2 separate regions of the Homo sapiens genome follow, and region 2 is linked to region 1. Evidence: promoter capture Hi-C in 16 types of primary human blood cells and fetal thymus (Javierre and others, 2016). All regions are on one chromosome and are shown on one strand. Each heading gives the region's core, a stretch centred on a gene start or on the middle of the fragment in contact. The rest is flanking DNA. Distances are from core to core; before and after follow the strand shown.

Evidence for each region. Contacts are between HindIII fragments. The CHiCAGO score rates a contact against its expected background, and 5 or more counts as called.
Region 2: a fragment that was not itself captured here is called in contact with the fragment with the promoter of FGD1 in region 1 in 1 of 17 cell types (monocytes); the score reaches 6.0 in monocytes.

Annotation. Positions count from the first base shown.
Region 1 is chrX:54,493,520-54,500,213 of GRCh38, reverse strand. It overlaps FGD1 (FYVE, RhoGEF and PH domain containing 1), which reads left to right and starts at 3,980. Exons shown (of 18, transcript NM_004463.3): 1 at 3,980-5,088. The coding sequence starts at 4,782. RefSeq lists a silencer at 3,868-3,917. The HindIII fragment of the contact is 12,526 bases long and covers 2-6,694 here.
Region 2 is chrX:55,016,119-55,020,112 of GRCh38, reverse strand. It overlaps ALAS2 (5'-aminolevulinate synthase 2), which reads left to right. Exons shown (of 11, transcript NM_000032.5): 7 at 2,448-2,627. Among named protein-coding and RNA genes, the nearest start is that of ALAS2, 13 kb to the left of the region's middle. The HindIII fragment of the contact is 250 bases long and covers 2,172-2,421 here.

The sequences.
Region 1 (6,694 bases), core at 2,731-5,230:
TTAAAACCTTTCAATGTGTATTTCAGCATTTTGGGGATGTGAGGTATCTGCAAAAGAGATACTATTTCCTCGGGATCCAGTTCACATACGATACAAACTGAAGCATTTCATGAAACATATTTACCCTTCCTACATGATCCTATGATACACTCTTTTTATTAATTAATTTATTTATTTGTTGTGTATGTGAGATGGAGTCTTGCTCTGTCGCCCAGGCTGGAGTGCAGTAGCACGATCTCGCCTCACTGCAACCTCCATCTCCCGGGTTCAAGCCATTCTCCTGCCTCAGCCACTCGAGTAGCTGGGATTACAGGCACGCTCCACCACACTCGGCTAATTTTTGTATTTTTAGTAGACGGGATTTCACCATATTGGTCAGGCTGGCCTCAAACTCCTGACCTCAGGTGATCCACCCACCTCGGCCTCCCAAAGTGCTGGGATTACAGGCGTGAGCCACCATGCCCAGCCCATTCTTATATTTTCTATTCTTAAATTGATTTCAGTACCTTCTCCAGTTTGACCCACATTTAAAAGCACTGCTTCAATACCTTTTCATTGCTTGTAGAATAAAACCCATTCTTCTTAACATGGCCTAAAAAGCCCTGCATAATCTAGCTCCTGCCTACCTTTTGAATCTCATATCCCACCCCTCTTGCCTTCCAAGCACTATGCTTTAGCCATATTAGCCTTCTATAGCTCCTAAATAGGCCATTTCTCTTTCTCCCCAGGGCCTTCCTACTTGCTGTATCCTTTGCCTGGAGCACTTTTGTGTCCACTCATCTGCCAACTCCCACTCCTTCAGGGCTCAGCTTAAATAGCAGCCCTTGCCTGACCCCTCAGGCTAAATCACACCCCCCCACACACACATACCCGTTATTCTCTTTCCTATCACCCTGTTCTGTCCCTTTATAACCTTATCACAATTTGTAATTATGTGTGTTTATGTGTTGTAATTATGTGTTTATTTCACATCCTCTCCAGTACCAGCCAATGAACTCTGAGGACAGTTTTTTCACCATTGTCTTGTTCATGTCTGTCTTATTCACTGCTGCATAGCTAGTGCATCACATGGTGCCTGGCCCATAGTTTGTGTTCAAAAGACATTCGTTGAATGAGCTGAGATCTGAAGAACAAATGAAGTGGAATTGGGGAGATGCAGAGAAAGTTTCACTCAGCGAGAACAGCATATGCAAAAACTTGGAGGCTAGAGAGACTAAGGAATAGTCTAAGAATTTCAGCACGGAAAGGCTGGCAGGGGCACAGATCATGAAGGGCCATTTAACCTTTCCTGTTAAGGAAGGTGGGTTTCATTTTGAGCCAGTAGAGACTCACTGAAGGGTCCTAAACATGGGAGTGATATAATTTGATTTAACTTTTATTTAATTATATATATATATATATATATTTTTTTTTTTTTTTTTTTTTTTGAGACGAGTCTCGCTCTGTCGCCCAGGCTGGAAGCAGCATGATCTTGGCTCACTGCAACCTCCGCCTCCCGGGTTCAAGCAATTCTCTGCCTCAGCCTCCCAAGTAGCTGGGATTACAGGCATCCGCCCCCATGCCCGGCTAATTTTTGTATTTTTGGTAGAGATGGGGTTTCACCATTTTGGCCAGGCTGATCTCGAACTCCTGACCTGAAGTGATCCACCCACCTCGGCTTACCAAAGTGCTGGTATTACAGGTGTGAGCCACCGCACCCGGCCTTATTTATGTTTTCAAAAGATATACACTGCCTATAGTGTAGAGAATAGATTCCAGAGAACAAGACTGAAATAGGGAGGCTGTGACAGTATTGCAGGTTAGAAATGGTTCTGGTCTAAACCAGGGTAGTGGCCCCAGAAATGTAGAGACTACATAAATAGATTTGGTAGGAGGTCAAAATGATGGGACTTGGTGACTGCATGGGTGATGGAGGAGAGAAAAGAATTAAGGGTGTAACCCGGGTTTCTGCTTTGACTGGGGTCATTCACTAAGGTAAGACACAAAGAAGGACAAACAGGTTGGAAGGAGGATGCCTTGAGTTGGGAAGAAGCTGAGGTTTTAGGTGTCTCTGGGATATTCAGGTAGAGCTGCCTAATAACCAGTTGAATGCATGGGTCAGGAGAAATATCTGGTTTTGAGGTATCAATTTGGGAGTCATCAGCAAAGATATGATCATTGAAGCCAGGGGAGCAAATGAGATAAAGAAAAGAGCGGCCTGTAATCCGAGGCTTCTCTTTCCTCAAGTGGATCACTTGAGGTCAGTAGTTGGAGACCTGCCTGGCCAATATGGCAAAACCCCGTCTCTACTAAAAATACAAAAATTATTCGGGCTTGGTGGTGCATGCCTGTAATGCCAGCTACTTGGGAGGCTGAGGCAGAAGAATAGCTTGAACCCGGTAGGCGGAAGTTGCAGTGAGCCTAGATCGCGCCACTGCACTCCAGCCTAGGCGACAGAGCAAGACTCTGTCTCAGAAAGAAAGAAAGAAAAAAAAATCACATGTAGAGAGAGGACAAGAGCGCTCAGGCCAAAGCCCTGAAGAGCACCAGCATAAAGCGTTGGACAAAGAGGAGCCTGGAAAGTAAAAAAAGAATTACTAAGGAAGTAGAAGAAAAACAAGGAAAGTGCAGTGTCATGGAAGTGGTTTAAGGAGGAGGGAGTGGTCAACAGTGCCAAATGCTATCAAGAAACCAAGTAGGATAACCTCTGAAAAGATTCTATGGGGGCTGGGCGCGGTGGCTGACGCCTGTAATCCCAGCACTTTGGGAGACAGAGGCCGGCGAATTACAAGGTTAGAAGTTCGAGACAAGCCTGGCCAGTATGGTGAAACCCCGTCTCTACTAAAAATACAAAAAAATAGCTGGGCGTAGCTACTCGGGAGGCTGAGGCAGAAGAATCGCTTGAACCCAGGAGGCGGAGATTGTAGTGAGCCGAGATCGTGCCGCTGCATTCCAGCCTGGGCGACAGAGTGAGACTCTTGTCTCAAAAAAAAAAAAAAAGAAAAGATTCTATGGGATTTAGTGAGATGTTTCATGGCAGACCCTGATGAGAGAGAGCAGTTTCAAGCAAGTAGTGGAGGCAGATTGGAGTGGGTTGAAAGATAAGTGGGAGGTGGGAAAATGAAGACAGTTGGGTGTAGGCAACTCTTTTGAGAAGTTTGTAGAAGAGAAGAGAAGGAGGTGGTTGGAGAGGCAGAATTCTTGGTAATTGTTTATTTGTTTTTAGATGGAAGAGGTCTATGTTTAGATGCTGTTGGGAAGGAGCAAGGACAAATTCCTAGGCTTCGTAGCAAAAAGTCAAGAGCTTCCTCTACGGTGGCTCTGTTTACTCTCTGCAGCAGGTCAGGTTATTTGCTGAGGGTTACAGGGCAGATGGAGCACTTGGGGTTTGAGGGGAAAGGAGAAGGTTTGAAATGGTCACTGTGGAGAACAGAGGGAGAGCTGACTAGTAGGGTTGTGGGTCAAAACTGAGGGCCTGGTAGAAGCTGGGAACCATGGGTTTATAGTGGCACAAATCTGTGAAGTTGAATAGTTTTCCCCAGCAATGTTTAGCTGCCTGGGCGCAGGCATGGAAAAGGCGGACAGTTGGACCGATTCAAGACTGGGATGTTGCCAGGCGGATGCGACAAATCAGGGAACTGAGGGTATTTAAGAAAGTGACTAAGTAAGGGACCAAGATATCTGGTCTGAGCAAAGTGAAGGAGAATCAGAGACAGGTCCTCTATGAGCCAAGCCCTAGGAACACTCAGGAACATGAAGAAAGGGTTTTGGAAAAGAGAGTGAACGGCAAGCAGAGGGGGGAAGACCTGAGATGGGATGGAAGGGCAGATATGGGGGGAGGGGGTTGAGCCCGGAGACTTGCCTGTGGGGAAAGCAGGCTGAGGGGGAATTTTTTAAGGGGCAGGAGGGCCTTGAGAGCGGTAGCAGCGAGAAGTGAGGCGGCCCCGAGCGAGGGGGCGTGGTCAGGCGCAAATCCCGGGCGAGGGGGCGGGGCCCCGGTAACTGGGTCCCAGTGCCGCTGTGGCTGCGGCTGCCTCTGCGAGGCTCCCGCCTCCCCACCCCCCTTCCCAGGGCTCCTTCCCGCCCGCCGCCGCCGAGACCCAGGCTGAAGCTGGGGAGGACGGTGGAGCCCGGCCCAGGCCGTTCTCCTGCCCCCGCGGCTGGAGCATCGTCTGGGACTACTGGCTGAAGGCGAGCCCCGCAGCCCAAGCGCAGCGCACACGCGCGCCCCCGGCCACCGCCGTTCTCTCTTCCCTCCCCTCCTCTCCCCTCCCCTCTCCTCCGCCCCCGGCCTCGGCTGCGGCGGGAGGAAGAACGCTTCCCAACCAGCCAGGAGAGCCCAGATCTATTCCCATTCGGGGAGAAAGAAGAGACCCCGCACTTGGATCCGACCGACTTCTCGCCCCGGGGCCACGGAAGTGGCTCGCCGTCCACCGGAGAGTCCCCGCCGAGCGTAGCCCTCCAACCCTCGCCCAACCGCAGCCGCATAGACAGCGCTCCCCAGCGGGCCCCCGGCCCCGCCGAGCCCACTCCCCGCGCGGGGCCGGGGCCGGGGCCGGCGATGCCTGGCACGGCAGCGGCGGTGGCCGCGGCTGCTGCTGCTGCTACTGCCACCGCTGCCACGGCTGCTGGCCCGGGCCCGGGCTGGGGGCTTGAGTCTCTGCAGTGGGGCTGAGCCCGCAGTCCCGCCCCCCGATCCTGAGGCCGCTGCTCCGCCGGGCGCCGGGCCTCCTCCGCCCGCGCCTCCGCCCCAGGAGCTGGAGCCAAGCGGGGAGCTCGGGCCCCGCGCCCAGGCCCGGACCATGCATGGCCACCGAGCCCCGGGGGGCGCCGGGCCTTCGGAGCCCGAACACCCGGCCACGAACCCGCCGGGCGCCGCTCCGCCGGCCTGTGCCGACTCGGACCCTGGAGCCTCGGAACCCGGACTGCTGGCGCGCAGGGGCTCAGGTTCGGCTCTTGGCGGCCCACTGGATCCCCAGTTTGTCGGACCCTCGGACACCAGCCTGGGCGCTGCTCCAGGCCACCGGGTCTTGCCCTGCGGTCCCAGTCCACAGCACCACCGGGCCCTGCGCTTCTCTTACCACCTGGAGGGCTCGCAGCCTCGGCCTGGTGAGTGAGCGACTGAGAGAGCATGGGAGCCCGGGCCACGGGCCTGGTACTGGGAGCGGGTTCTTGTTCTCGAGCCCTCTAAGCCCCACCTCGGAACAGGCTCGCTTACCTCGGCCCTTTGGGTTCCCTCAAACCCCTCCTCCTCCCCACGTCCCTTGGCCTTATGTCCAGTCCTTTCAACCTCTGTCCCCATCTCCTCTCTCTGTCCCTTGTGCCCCTCAACCTCTCCAACCCCCTTCTCCTCTGTCTGCTGAGGCTAATGGGAGAGGGAGCACTCGCGAGAAAAAGAGGGAGGATTGCAAGGCAGCAATCCTTGGATATTTGGTTGGGGAAACCAGGGTTTCGTTTGGAGAACAGAAGAAAAAAAGGAGCCTTACATTTGCCAAGCGCCTACATTGTACCAGGCACTGGACTGGGTGCTTTACATGGATTTTCATTTCAGCTTCAGGAACCCTCATGAAGTAGATACCATTAGTCCCATTTTGTAGGGAAGGAAACTGAAGCTCAGAGAAGTTAAGCAACTTGCCCAAGGTCACACAGCTAGTATGGAGCCACGATTCAAACCAGATCTGTTTGTGTCCAAAGTCTGTGGTCTTTCTGCTTCCCCAAACTGAGGCTGGAGACCATGAAAGTAATGCCAAGCCTTCTGCTTATGTGATTTTCTCCTGTACTATTCAGCAGCCCTGGAGTATGAGCGGAAAAAAAAAAAAAAAAAAAAAAAAAGAAAGACGGTGGATTGATCCAAGGTTGAGATTTTGCCAGGTGTGTGTGGCGGGAGAACAAGGGAAGGAAGGAGTAGAAGGTGCTGAGAGAGAAAGGTGGAAGAGGTGGGCCTTGGGAGTCAGGCTAGAGGAGAAGGCTGGAGGGGCTGATAGGTAGGGAGACAGCAGAAAAGCCAACAGAGGCAGAAGCCAGTTGTAGCAGGAGCTGGAGAGCTGCAGGTCCACGAGGTTGGTTGTGATGTGAAATCAGGATGGTTTCTTGGATTTGAAAAGGTGGAGCAGCTTTAAGTCAGGCTGAGGCCACAGACCACTGCCTTTGTGCTACACAGACCTGAGTGTCTGAGGAGCACAGCAGGACCTTCCCCATCTGGGGACATTCTCATACGGGCCTGAGCCCAGGAGCCACAGAAGAAGAGCAGCGCACATCTGCCCTGCCTTCCACTGGGACTGAAGGAGTTGTTAAGCCCTTGGGGGCTCCCGGGTTCACACCTCAGGCTCCACAGATCTCTGGGACCGTGGCCTTGCACCAGGTAGCAGTAGTGAAGTATAAAGCATGGGTAGGATGTGCCTTTTGGTGCCTTCATGACCTTGGGCTAGTCATGGAACCTCTGGGAGATTTCAGGGGGCTCCCTCAGTGTGGGCTGAAGATAACCAGCTGGCAACAGGCCCTTAACACCTTGGCCTGCATGTTACTTCTGCTGGCTTTCCAAACTCCCCTTGACACTGTGTAAAGCCAGTGCCTTTTTGCAGCTGCCAAAACAGGCCACAAGCACTCCCACCCCAGGACTTTTGCATTGGCTTTTCCTTCTGGCTGGAAGCTCTTCCCCTAGCCCTCCACCTGGCTTGCTCCTCGTCTTGCATGTCTCAGGTCAAATGTCACCTCT
Region 2 (3,994 bases), core at 1,047-3,546, 520 kb before region 1:
ACATTACCCCACCTCACAGAAAGGAAACACTATAAATTCATCACCTCCCAACTCAACTGAGCTCTTAACACACATACATAGTTATTTTATGTCTCCACAGGAGCTTTTTCAAACTTCTTCTCCTCTTCTAAAACCTCTGACTACCTTCTCCTCCACACTTAGCAAATAACCTCACATCTTACTTCACAATAAAAACAGAAGCCCCAGACAGAGAATCCTTATTTATTGCCACCAAACCTACGAACTTATCTAATTGTTTATCTAGCCTTGCCTCATTCTTTCCTTTTACAATGGAAGGCATATCTCTCCTTCTGCCTAAAACCAATCCCTTCACTTGTACACTGGTTCCCATATTCCCAGTCTCCTACTCTCTAGTCTGTAATGTCCTCACCTCATACGCCTTGTTGTCCTTCCGCCAAGGCCCAATCCAGAATGAATACAACCCTCCATCTTCACTATATCAATTCCGGGCTCATACAGTTGCTCAGACAGGAGTCACTAAAAATTCATACTCTTAACCTCTACTGGGTTCTCCATGGTCTCTGACAATCCCATTTCCCTGGTCAGTTCTCGAAGTTTATGGGGCAGTTTTGCCAAACCACCATTATCCTCAGCCTTCCCACACCCCCTCCTCCCCATCTCCCTCAGCAGACAACTTCATGTTCTACTACATTCAAAATAGAAGATACCAGACAGCAATGTCCTTGACTCCCAGCCACAAAGCACCTACAAACTCATAAGCATCTTCAAATGTCCTCTCCTCACTCCTTCTCTTCTGTCATAGTGGAAGAAGTATCCTTTTTCTTGTGACTAATCCTTCCACTGTTGCTCTGTGCCCCATTCCCCTCTACCACCTTAGGAATCTTGACCTATTGGCTCTCTCCTCCTCTCCTGTATCTTCAGCCTCTCCCTCTCTTTAAACATGTTTTCAAGTCTCTTGTATCTTATAAAAAAACATTGCCTCAACCCCTGATCACTCTCTAGCTACTGCCCTCTTTCCTCCCTATAACAGGCAAACTGCTTGAGAGAAGTCTTCGCTCTTACTATCTACTTCCTCACCTCCTGCTGATTCTTCAGCACAGCAAAAATATTACCACCACTTCTCAGAAACTTTTTTTGAGTCCACCCATAAGCCCCAACTAAACTCAACATCTTTAAGTTGTTTTTAGTCCATCCCCTCCTCAACCATTAAACTTCTTTCCATCTCTACTGCCAGCATCCTAGCCTGATCCAACATCATTTTTTAAAGAAAATTTTACCTTTGCCCTCCGATAATCTATTCTTTACAACAGTCAGAATTTTTTTTAATGCAAAACTATCTTTGTCACCCCACCCTCAGCCCTGGTCAAAACCCTTTAGTGGACCCCCATTCCCCCAGGACCAAATCCAAATTTCTTATCACAGCTTCTAAAGTTCTCAATAATCTGGCTTCTATGTATCTCTTCGGTCTCACCTTTTTGCATCCCTCCTCTCACTATTTCATTCAGTAATACATTCATTCATATACTCATTCACTTACTTATAAATCTGTCATCAGTTTATTTATCCATTCATTTAATAAATGTTTACTTAGCATCTACTGTGTGCTTACTCTTATACTGGACACCAGAGACAGAGAGATAATAAGATGTTTTTGCTCCCATGCAACTCCCAGTCTGCTTGTCTTTCAAGCCATTTTCTCCAGAAAGCCATAACTCATTTTCTCAGGTGGAAGTTATCCCTTAATCTTATAATAAGGCCACAGTTCCTTGATGGCAGTGCAGTTGGTGGCAGGGGTTGGGGAGGTCCAGGAATCAACTCCCTCTACCAATTTCACATGCCCACCTGCCCCACCAGGATTGCCCAGTAAAAAGCCCTGCATTCTTCAAATCTTTCTGGACCTTAGCTTTCTCACTTGTATAGTAAAGGGATGAATCCCATGATCACTAACAGCCCTGCCAGCTCTGACATGCCATAAGCTTATGATTCCAACAGTAAAAGCCTGATAAATATCCATCCCTGTAACCACAAGCAGATGCTACCTGGAATGGATGGAATTTCATCTAGACTAGGAACAATCTAGCATCAGTCCGAGTCAACAAACATTCCCTGGGGTAATCCCTTTTTCAAGTCTTGATCTTATATATTGGGGAGAAGGAAAATAGGTCCCGTCCTCAAAAAACTCTGAAGCTTCTTGGGAAATTAAATGTTCTTCCACCCCAAGGCAGTCAGAGGCTAGACCAGGGTTACAAATGACTGGAGGGAAGGATGTAGGGGTCAGAATTTGGGAACAGTGAAGTCCTTCCAAGGGAGAAAGAAGTGTCACAAAAGTTCCCAGAGAAGGAAGAAGCAGAGCAAGGTCTTCAAAGGGAAGAAAGGGTTGGCCCTTTTCTTTGCCAGGTCAAACCTGAAGGTTGAAGTGGGAGTACTGGGACAGAAGCTTAAGGATTATACATCTGCTTCCTCAGGGTGCGAGATTTACTCAGACGCAGGCAACCATGCTTCCATGATCCAAGGTATCCGTAACAGTGGAGCAGCCAAGTTTGTCTTCAGGCACAATGACCCTGACCACCTAAAGAAACTTCTAGAGAAGTCTAACCCTAAGATACCCAAAATTGTGGCCTTTGAGACTGTCCACTCCATGGATGGTATGTATATGAGTGAGTGTATGTTTACTAGTGTTGGTCTCACAAAAACCATGATGATCATGATGATGATGATGACGATAACATTATAACAGCTAATATTTATAGTGTTTATTATGTGCCAAGCAAAATTATTAGTATTTTACATGTATTAATTCATTTAATTTTCTGAACAATTCTATGTGATAGGTGTTATTATTATTTTGATTTTTTACATGAGGAAACTGAGACATAAGAGTAATTTGTCCAAGGTCACACAGCTAGTAAATGCCAAAGAATGGAGGCAGCTATTACATTCATCTTATAGGTAAAGAAACTAAAGTTCAGAGTTGGCATCCAATTCATCTTGAGTGGCTCAGCAAGTTGGTGCTAAAGTGAGTATCTGCACCCTAACACATATAACTCCAATTCCTCGAGTAACACTTCTCTTGTTAGAAATGATATGTAAATCAATAATCCCAGTGTTTGGTTTTTATGAAGGAAATTTCAAAAACCATTGCCTAGGATTTTTTTCAAGGTCCAGTATGAAGCATTGGGGTCAAAACAGGTTTTCAAGTCAGAGAGACCTGGGTTCAAATCCCACCTTTGACAGTTACTGGCTATGACCATGGGTAACTCTTTAACTGTCTAAGCCTCAATTTTCCCAAAGGTAAAATATCTGGTTGTAAGAATTAGAGATGATAGAAACCATTCTAGTTATTATGCTTTAGTAGAATTAAATGATCTTCACACTCCTACCTCCTTTCTTTGCTCAATTGAAACAATGTCCAAAGCTTTCTATTGCTGGCCCTGTTGTGTAGAAATCATGTGTTTTAGGCATCCTCTTATGGATTTATTTAAGGGAAGAGGTCCTCAACTCATTTCAGTTTGTCCCTTTTCCAACTGAAACAAAAGAGTCCATAGTATTCCCTGATTTAGGTATCTTAAGTGGCATGTAATGACTATACACACAGGCTCTAAAACCAGACTATCCATGTTCAAATCCTAGCATGACCATTTACTAGCTTGGGCAAGCTTCTTAATTGCTCTGTGTCTCAGTTCTCAGTTGCTTATTTGAAAAATGTAAGTGATAATAATTAAATAGGTATGCAAATTAAATGAGTTAATATATGTAAGAAACTTACTATTATGCCCACTCCCACATTTCTAACACTAGCAATAAAGTAAAACTATCCTATCCCTTTTGTATATTTCTACCACTGAGACTATTCAAATTCATTATTTCTCTAGTGGAAACTATGTTGGTACCATTCTACCTCGTTACATTTGCAAATAAATAGTTATTTACCTATTTTTGGGGTGCAAACTCTGCCCAAACTGTTGATCCTTAGGCTGAATCTCTCCCATTGAAATGATGCTAGGCTGAACAC